Regions from separate parts of the Homo sapiens genome. Here region 1 is linked to region 2. Evidence: promoter capture Hi-C in human tissues and cell types (Jung and others, 2019). All regions are on one chromosome and are shown on one strand. The core of a region is centred on a gene start or on the middle of the fragment in contact, and the rest is flanking DNA. Distances in the headings are between cores, read along the strand shown.

Region 1 (4,493 bases), core at 1,381-3,880, 46 kb before region 2:
ACATTTTTCTGTTAGATCTCCATTTACCCCATATCATAAGTCTACCCCTTTTTTTCTTCATTTGGGGTTCCTCGTCTGGATTCCCTCCATTCCCTCTCCTCTTTTCTTCCATGAGCTCTTCTGCAGCTTTGCTTTCTTTGGTCTGCAGAAGATCCTCAGGAACGGGAACGTCGGGAACGCAGGGAGAGGATGGAACGGGAGACCAATGGAAATGAGGATGAGGAAGGGCGGCAGAAGATCCGGGAAGAGAAGGATAAGAGCAAGGAACTGCATGCCATTAAGGTGCAGGCCTTGGCTCCATCTTCACTTCTCTCCCACACAAAAATGAGGTTTAGTTATTTGGCCATTGTGATCTCTGCATGTGAGAATTGGGCCTCAAAGCTCATGTGCTTTGTGTTCTGTCCCTGGGTAGGAGCGTTACCTGGGTGGCATCAAAAAGCGGCGCCGAACGAGACATCTCAATGACCGGAAATTTGTTTTTGAGTGGGATGCATCTGAGGACACATCCATTGACTACAACCCCCTGTGAGTGGCTTCAGGCCTGAGTTCTAGGTCTTTTCCACTAGGCAGTCCTAGAGAGCTGATGACTACGGAGGTGGAGGAAGTAAGATAAGCTGGGATGGAAAATTGGTAGACTGGTAGTCAGCCAGCCCTCTGGTGGAAGAAAGACCCTGTCTGGGAAGAACTGTTTCATACTAGTAGTCTGCCCTTCCTTCCTACTGCCGTTAACAGCTCCTTCTTTTTTCTTTTCCTCTATCTCAATCCCAGGTACAAAGAACGGCACCAGGTGCAGTTGTTAGGGCGAGGCTTCATTGCAGGCATTGACCTCAAGCAGCAGAAGCGAGAGCAGTCACGTTTCTATGGAGACCTAATGGAGAAGAGGCGAACCCTGGAAGAAAAGGAGCAGGAGGAGTGAGTGATCAAGGCTAGGGTGGCTGGACAGAGCCCAGAGGCTCTACAGAAAGGAGTTGGAGGGCACTGATTCTACTTACTCCTCACACCCTGCTCCAGGGCAAGACTCCGCAAACTTCGTAAGAAGGAAGCCAAGCAGCGCTGGGATGATCGTCATTGGTCTCAGAAAAAGTTAGATGAGATGACGGACAGGGACTGGCGGATCTTCCGTGAGGACTACAGCATCACCACCAAAGGTGGCAAGATCCCCAATCCCATCCGATCCTGGAAAGACTCTTCTCTGCCCCCACACATCTTGGAGGTCATTGATAAGTGTGGCTACAAGGTAAGGAGGGATAGATTGGCCCAAGAGATCTGACATGTTCCTACACTAGTTTGGGAATAGAGAACTTTGTTCCTTGACTATTTGGAGCCATCGCTGCTAGTGGGCACCAATGTGACCTTTTCTGTCACTTTCTGGTAGAAGTGTTGGCTTTTAGTGATTAGGTTTCTTCTTGGGGTCCCTATTTCTGTGAACTGTACTTGGCATCCTTCCATTGTGCTAGCAGATGTGCTTACTACTATCAGTGGTTGCCCAGGTGGTATAACTCTCCCTGTACCTATTACTCTTTCTTGGGGTCACTGCAGGAACCAACACCTATACAGCGTCAGGCAATTCCCATTGGGCTACAGAATCGTGACATCATTGGTGTGGCTGAGACTGGCAGTGGCAAGACAGCAGCCTTCCTCATCCCTCTGCTGGTCTGGATCACCACACTTCCCAAAATTGACAGGTGAGGTCAGCTAGCACCAGCTGGAGTGGGTTTGTCTGGGTAGGAAAGGTGAAAGTGGCAAATGAATGTTTGATTTTTGTTTTACGTCTATAATCAGAAGCTTTCTTCTTTATTCTTTGTTGGATATTAGGGAATAATTGGATCATGATATCGAAGAAGTATATGTTGCTGGCAAAGACCTGGAGAACTTTGCTATCCTGGAGTCTCTGATTTATTTTATTTATTTTTTTGAGGCAGAGTCTCACTCTGTCACCCAGGCTGGAGTGCAGTGGCACGATCTCAGCTCACTACAACTTTTGCCTCCCAGGTTCAGGTGATTCTCCTGCTTCATCCTCCTGAGTAGCTGGGGATTACAGGCGTGTGCCACCACTTCTAGCTAATTTTTGGTTTTTTGTTTTGTTTTGTTTTTTGAGACGGAGTTTCGCTCTTGTTGCCCAGGCTGGAGTGCAATGGCGCAATCTCGGCTCACTGCAACCTCCTCCTCCCAGGTTCAAGTGATTCTCCTCCCTCAGCCTCCCAAGTAGCTGGGATTATAGGTGCCCGTCACCATGCCCGGCTAATTTTTTTGTATTTTTAGTAGAGACGGGGTCTCAATGTTGGTCAGGCTGGTCTCTAACTCCTGACCTCAAGTGATCTGCCTGCCTCAGCCTCCCAAAGTGTTGGAATTACAGGCGTGAGCCAGTGTGCCTGTCCTTAATTTTTACATTTTTAGTAGAGATGAGGTTTCACCATGTTGGCCAGGCTGGTCTCAAACTCCCGATCTCAACTGATCTGCCTGCCTTGGCCTCCCAAAGTGCTGGGATTACAGGCGTGAACCACTGCACCTGGCTGAATCTCTGATTTTTATGTATTTATTATTTATTTATTTATTTATTTTTTGAGATGGAGTCTCGCTCTATTGTCTAGGCTGGAGTGCAGTGGTGTGATCTTGGCTTACAGCAACCGTTGCCTCCCAGGCTCATATCCTCCTACCTCAGCCTCCCAAGTAGCTGGGATTACAGGTGTGTTCGAACATGCCCAGCTAATTTTTGTATTTTTTGTAGAAACAGGGTTTTACCATGTTGCCTAGACTGGTCTCAAACTCCTGGGCTCAAGTGATTCACTCACCTCAGCCTCCGAAAGTGCTCGGATTATAGGCTTGTGCCACCTTGCCTGGCCTCTGGACTTATTTTTATTTTTATTTTTTTTGGAGACAGAGTGTCTCTGTCACCCAGGCTGGAGTGCAGTGGCGTGATCTCAGCTCACTGCAACCTCTGTCTCCTGGGTTCAAGCGATTCTTCTGCCTCAGCCTCCCGAGTAGCTGGTATTACAGGCGCCGGCCACCACGCCTGGCTAATTTTTGTATTTTTATTAGAGGCAGGGTTTCACCATGTTGGCCAGGCTGGTCTCAAACTCCTGACTTCAGGTGATCCGCCTGCCTCAGCCTCCCAAAGTTCTGGGATTACAGACATGAGCCACCATGCCCAGCCCTGGCCTCTGATTTTTAAGTGAGATCATTGCATTCTTTTCTCATCATCCTCCCCATTCCCATTGCTCCCCGTAAGAGTGACTTTGTCTTGCTCTGGCTTGTGGTTGGATAAGAACCAAAGCTCACGAAGCTGTGGGGCACCCTGTTTACCACAGGATCGAAGAGTCAGACCAAGGCCCTTATGCCATCATCCTGGCTCCCACCCGTGAGTTGGCTCAACAGATTGAGGAAGAGACCATCAAGTTTGGGAAACCGCTAGGTATCCGCACTGTGGCTGTCATTGGTGGCATCTCCAGAGAAGACCAGGGCTTCAGGCTGCGCATGGGTTGTGAGGTTTGTTTTTCTATCTAGCAGCCAGCCTGCTGTCTGGGAAGGCTATCTTGGGGCTTTGTTTCTAGTTTCTGGAATATATGTGCAGTAGTATGAAGAAAGGAGCTGGTTTATATATATGTGCTATTTATTGAGAACTTATGCACCAGGGTTTATATCACAAATAGTATATATCATATATATTAGCTCATTAATTCTCACAATAATGTATGAGAGTGGTATTTCCTTGTTATAGATCAAGCTGAGGTTCAGGTTAATAACTGCCTGAAGTCACAAACAGCTGGCAATGGGCAGAGCTGAGACTCATATCCATAGCCTGTGCTTTTAGTTACTCTTTACTCTGCCAGACCAAATCTTTGACTTTGTGCATTGCCTTCATCTCAGGAAAGTGGAGGAGAGCTCTTTATGAGAAGTCTGCTGTAGAAATTTAGTCTTTTTACAATTTTTTAAAAAAATTTAGTCTTTATACAACCCCCTTCATAGTACCCCTTAGTCTCTCCCATCTAAGAAGTTCCTTCTTCAGGATCTGAAATGATTTGCCAAAAAAAAAAAAGTTTCTACTGATTTTGCCTCCTCTGTCTAATCCTTGCACCTTACTCAGAGACCTCATTCATTCCTGAGAAAATCCAGGCAACAAGTGATTTCATGCCAGTTTGCAGGAGCCTTTACTGCTAAACATAACCAGAGGTTGGGGTCCAAGTTCCTCAGCATTGGAGGTCTGTCACCCAAGTGGGTGGATAGTTCACAGGAAAGAAAAGAAGGGGCACCTGCTGGGCTATAAATGATTATACTGTACTCCTCAGATTGTGATTGCTACCCCTGGGCGTTTGATTGATGTGCTGGAGAACCGCTACCTGGTGCTGAGCCGCTGTACCTATGTGGTTCTGGATGAGGCAGATAGGATGATTGACATGGGCTTTGAGCCAGATGTCCAGAAGATCCTGGAGCACATGCCTGTCAGCAACCAGAAGCCAGACACGGATGAGGCTGAGGACCCTGAGAAGATGCTG
Region 2 (4,237 bases), core at 1,384-3,883:
AGACAGAGTCTTGCTGTGTTGCCCAGGCTGGAGTGCAGTGGCGCAATCTCAGCTCACTGCAACTTCCGCCTCCCAGGTTCAAGCGATTCCCTTGCCTCAGCCTCCCTAGTAACTGGGATTACAGGCGCGCGCCACCACTCCCCAATAATTTTTGTATTTTTAGTAGAGACGGGGTTTCACCATTTTGGTCAGGCTGGTCTCAAACTCCTGACCTCGTGATCTGCCTGCCTTGGCCTTCCAAAGTGCTGGGATTAAAGGAATGAGCCACCATGCCCAGCTAAAATTTAATTTTTTTTTTTTTTTTTGAGACGGAGTCTCGCTCTGTCGCCCAGGCCGGACTGCGGACTGCAGTGGCGCAATCTCCGCTCACTGCAAGCTCCGCTTCCCGGGTTCACGCCATTCTCCTGCCTCAGCCTCCCGAGTAGCTGGGACTACAGGCGCCCCCCACTACGCCCAGCTAATTTTTTGTGTGTTTTTAGTAGAGATGGGGTTTCACTGTGTTAGCCAGGATGATCTTGATCTCCTGACCTTGTGATCCGCCCGCCTCAGCCTCCCAAAGTGCTGGGATTACAGGCATGAGCCACCGCACCCGGCCTAAAATTTCATTTTTTAACGCATATTTATCTCAATTGTTTTTTGCATTTTCCCCATGTGGCTCATGAGCACATTATTCTAAGCGTAAGTGGTAGATAACCTGATTCAGGTATTTTGAAGAGGAAATTTTGATAGCAAAAACAATTTTTTTTTTTTGAGACGGCGTCTCGCTCTGTCTCCCAGGCTGGAGTGCAATGGCGTGATCTCGGCTCACTGCAACCTCCGCCTCCCGGGTTCAAGCGATTCTCCTGCCTCAGCCTCTCGAGTAGCTGGGACTACAGGTGCCCGCCACCACGCCCAGCTAATTTTTAATAGAGACGGGGTTTCACCATGTTGGCCAGAATGGTCTCGATTTCTTGACCTTGTGATCCACCCGCCTCGGCCTCCCAAAGTGCTGGGATTACAGGCGTGAGCCACCGCGCCCGGCCAGCAAAAACAATTTTTAAGGAAATTTTGAAGTGAGAAGTCAGGCAAAGAGGCCCCAAAGATCAAATTGCAGGCCAGGCCTGCACAACTGAGAAATGAGAAAGTACCACTTTCCCATTTTCAAACATTATAACAAACATTTCTCTATCTGATTCTGAAAACCCTGTAAGAAAGACAAGGCAGATGGTTTTATTCCCATTTCAAGAGATTGATGATTTACCCAAGGTATATAGTTTGCAGGTACACGTGGCTGATAAATGTTGGAAACTGGCTTTCCCAACTCTTCTTTTCCTTGCCTGAAGCTCTGTCCTGGACTTAGGAATCCCAGTGGTGATTTGGAGTGGACAAGACTTGAGTCTTGAAGGACAGGACTGCAGGGAGGGCTGGTCCTGAGGAGGAAGCATCTTCAGATACCTAGGTCTTGGGATCTTGGGTGGGGAATAGGCTGCTTGGGGAAGGGCTGAATTGGAAGGAGGAGCTAGAGGTCTGACTGAGGGAATGGAGAGGGGGCCTCAAAAGGAAGCCAGGCAGGCTGCCTTCTTCCCAGCTCCAGAATGGCACCCCCTCTAAAGTCACACTCACCTACGTACATCCTGGAGTGAAACTCCTTCTCCTTTCTGCTTCCACCATTACTCTAATCCTCAAAGGGTTAACCAGCTTTCACACGATTTTCCCATCTCCCAGGTAACTTGGGCAGCTGCTCCGTGCTGGAAATAACTAAAGACCCAGTTTCTCAGTTCGTGCACTTAGCAATGCACCCCAGTAGCCCCTCCAACCCCCAGCAGAGAAGCACAGCCCTTTGGGTAAAAGATGCCTGGGGGTGAGGCTGCAAGTTGGCAGGTGCGGGGGAGGGGCTCCCAGAGAGTAGGGCGGGGGGTTGTGGGGGCGGCAGGGAGAGTGCCCCTTCCCTGGGTCCCTCCACTGGGCCCCGAGGTTCGCCTCGGGGCCGCTGCCCCAGAGACTGGGGGGAAGAGGAAAGAAGTGGTGTGCGGGCAAGCAGGCCGCACACACCTGGCGCCTTGTGGAATGAGAGCTTAATTAATTATTAAACTGAGTTCCCGCGGGAGGGCGCAGGGCCGTGACAGGCAGGGCGGGAATGGCTAGGTGGGGGCTGGGGCTGGGGCAGGGGCAGGGAGGAATTGGGGATGAAGAGTGGGCGCGGGGCGCCGGCCCAACCCCTGGGACCCTGACAGGAAGGAAGGCGACCCTCGGTGGGCGGGGCGGGGGATGTAGCCGTGAGGGGTGGGTTTGCGGGCGCGCTCGGGGACCCCCGGGGTGAGGGCGGGAGAGGAATGCCGGAGGAGGCGGCCGGGGTGAAGGGAAGGGGACCGGGCTGCGAGGTCCCCTCCCCGCGGGGTCTTGATCCCAGAACAGTAGCTGCTTGTCTTCCCAGGACTGGGGGAGGAAGCGGCCGGAGGAGAGGAGGGGGCGCGCGGAGGGAGGGGTCCCATTATTTGGCCTCCTCCGCCCCTACCCCGCTGCTAGGAAGGGGAGTGGGCAACTCGGCCCCCACTTCTGGGGAGGGGGAGGGGGATGCCCAGACAAAAGGAGCTTGTGCCTTTAAGGCGGGGAGTCCGGGAGCCAGCGGGGAGGGGACTTCTGGATCCGGGGTAGAGGGCGGCTGCGCTGGACAGCTCGGGAGGGGGCGAGGGCCGGGCGGACGGCGGACGGCGGACGGCGGGCGGGACGGCCAGGACGCGCGGGCTCGGAGGACCGCGGGACGGCCGGCCGGCCGGCCGGAGCCCGCGGGGGCGGCGGGGCGGGGGCCCAGGGCAGGCGCGGAGCCGGGCCGGCAGGTGAGCGCGCTGAGGGCTAGGGGAAGTGGCCGCTCGGGCTCCCGGTGCGCCAGGATTGGAACGCACCCGAGCGGCTCTCGACAAGAGTTTGTGGGTGGGGGCGCCGAAGCCTTGGACGGGTCGTCTCGGCAGTGTTGCCCGAGGGAGTTGGGGTTGGCAAAGGGAAGTCATGGAGGCAGTGGGATCGAGGACTCCTAGGTCCGGCGCTCGCCACCCCCGTCGCCCGCCGCCTGCCTCCCTCCACGGGGCGAGTTCCAGGCTGGCCCGGAGGCCAGGAGGATCTGGCACGTACTGGGGGAGGGGCTGGCCTGAGTTTTTTGCTGCGGGGCTGTGGGGTGTCTCCGAGTTTGGGGGAGATTCCATTTAGGGGAGAGGAACCGGCCTGGGCAGAGGGAGGGATGCCCTCTGTCTGCGGGAGTCCCTCTCCTTCCCCTCACCCAAAACCTTGGGAATGAAAGGGGTGGGGTCGGCTCCCCACATCCCCCAAGGCCTGCCGCAGGGTGGGCAGGGGAGCTGACTTTATTCAAAGCAGACTCTGGGGCTCGACTGAAAGGCTAGAGGTGGAATCAGGCGTGGGAGCCTCTTTGCCCATATCCTCTCCTTACCAGATTACCCCTGTGAGCTGGAGGGACCTGGTGGGGGTTGCATAGTAAAGGGTGATGTGGGAGCCCTCTGTAATCTTTAGGGAGAGTGAGGACTGGGGATGGGAGAAGGCGGCAGCGGGCACTGGACCGACAGATACAGGCCCTGGGTAGGCTCCTCTACATCTGGAAAGGCCCAGAATTGAAGAATTGAGGCCCATGTCCGAGTATGGTGGGTGGTGCTGGCACTGCTGGGCCCCGCCTGGGCAGTGCCTCTTACCATGAACTTTCTGAAGTCGTTTTTAATCCCCTGGAGCCTCCTTTTGCCAAGGAGGGCAGGGGCAGATGGGCCCTGGGGATGGGATAGACAGGAGGTGGCCAGGAAGGCTTGGCAAGGCAGTGGGCAGAGCCATCCTTAGGGCTGGGCCTTGGCCTTGGCTGGTTCCAAACTCTGGTCTCAGCCTGATCAGGGTTTGGGAGGGACTTGAGGTCTGGGAGGCACTGAGCCTGGGCCTGCCAGGCTGAATGGGACATGGCTGTGGCTGTGGGAGCCGGTGGTATGAAGAACAGCAGATCTGTGAGAGTGCAAATGGACCAACACTCAGGGGAGGAGAAGGTAGAGGCACAAGGCTTAGGAGCCTGACTCTGGGGAGGAGGGAGGTGGTCTGTGCTCCCAGGGCTCATAGTGATGGGTTGCTGGACAAAGTGGGTTGGGGGACCATATAGAGAAATTTTGTGGCTTGGAACAGTGCTCTACCCTGTTTCCTGCCATACCAGTCTGGCATGGGGTGCCAGAAATGTTGGGAGGCCGGCAAGTTCTGCGGGATGGGCAGTGCCTGG

What was found. Contacts are between HindIII fragments. The study calls those that stand out against the background at their distance.
Region 1: a fragment that was not itself captured here is called in contact with the fragment with the promoter of ADCY6 in region 2 in 1 of the 25 tissues and cell types used here (pancreas).

What each region holds. Positions count from the first base shown.
Region 1 is chr12:48,833,313-48,837,805 of GRCh38, reverse strand. It overlaps DDX23 (DEAD-box helicase 23), which reads left to right. Exons shown (of 17, transcript NM_004818.3): 7 at 149-282; 8 at 413-525; 9 at 769-912; 10 at 1,012-1,237; 11 at 1,540-1,685; 12 at 3,309-3,486; 13 at 4,287-4,493. Among named protein-coding and RNA genes, the nearest start is that of DDX23, 17 kb to the left of the region's middle. The HindIII fragment of the contact is 5,776 bases long and covers 1-4,493 here.
Region 2 is chr12:48,787,485-48,791,721 of GRCh38, reverse strand. It overlaps ADCY6 (adenylate cyclase 6), which reads left to right and starts at 2,633. Exons shown (of 22, transcript NM_015270.5): 1 at 2,633-2,816. ADCY6-DT (ADCY6 divergent transcript) reads right to left here and starts at 2,575. Exons shown (of 3, transcript NR_110019.1): 1 at 2,495-2,575; 2 at 1,603-1,737; 3 at 1,187-1,409. RefSeq lists an enhancer at 3,686-4,230. The HindIII fragment of the contact is 15,533 bases long and covers 1-4,237 here.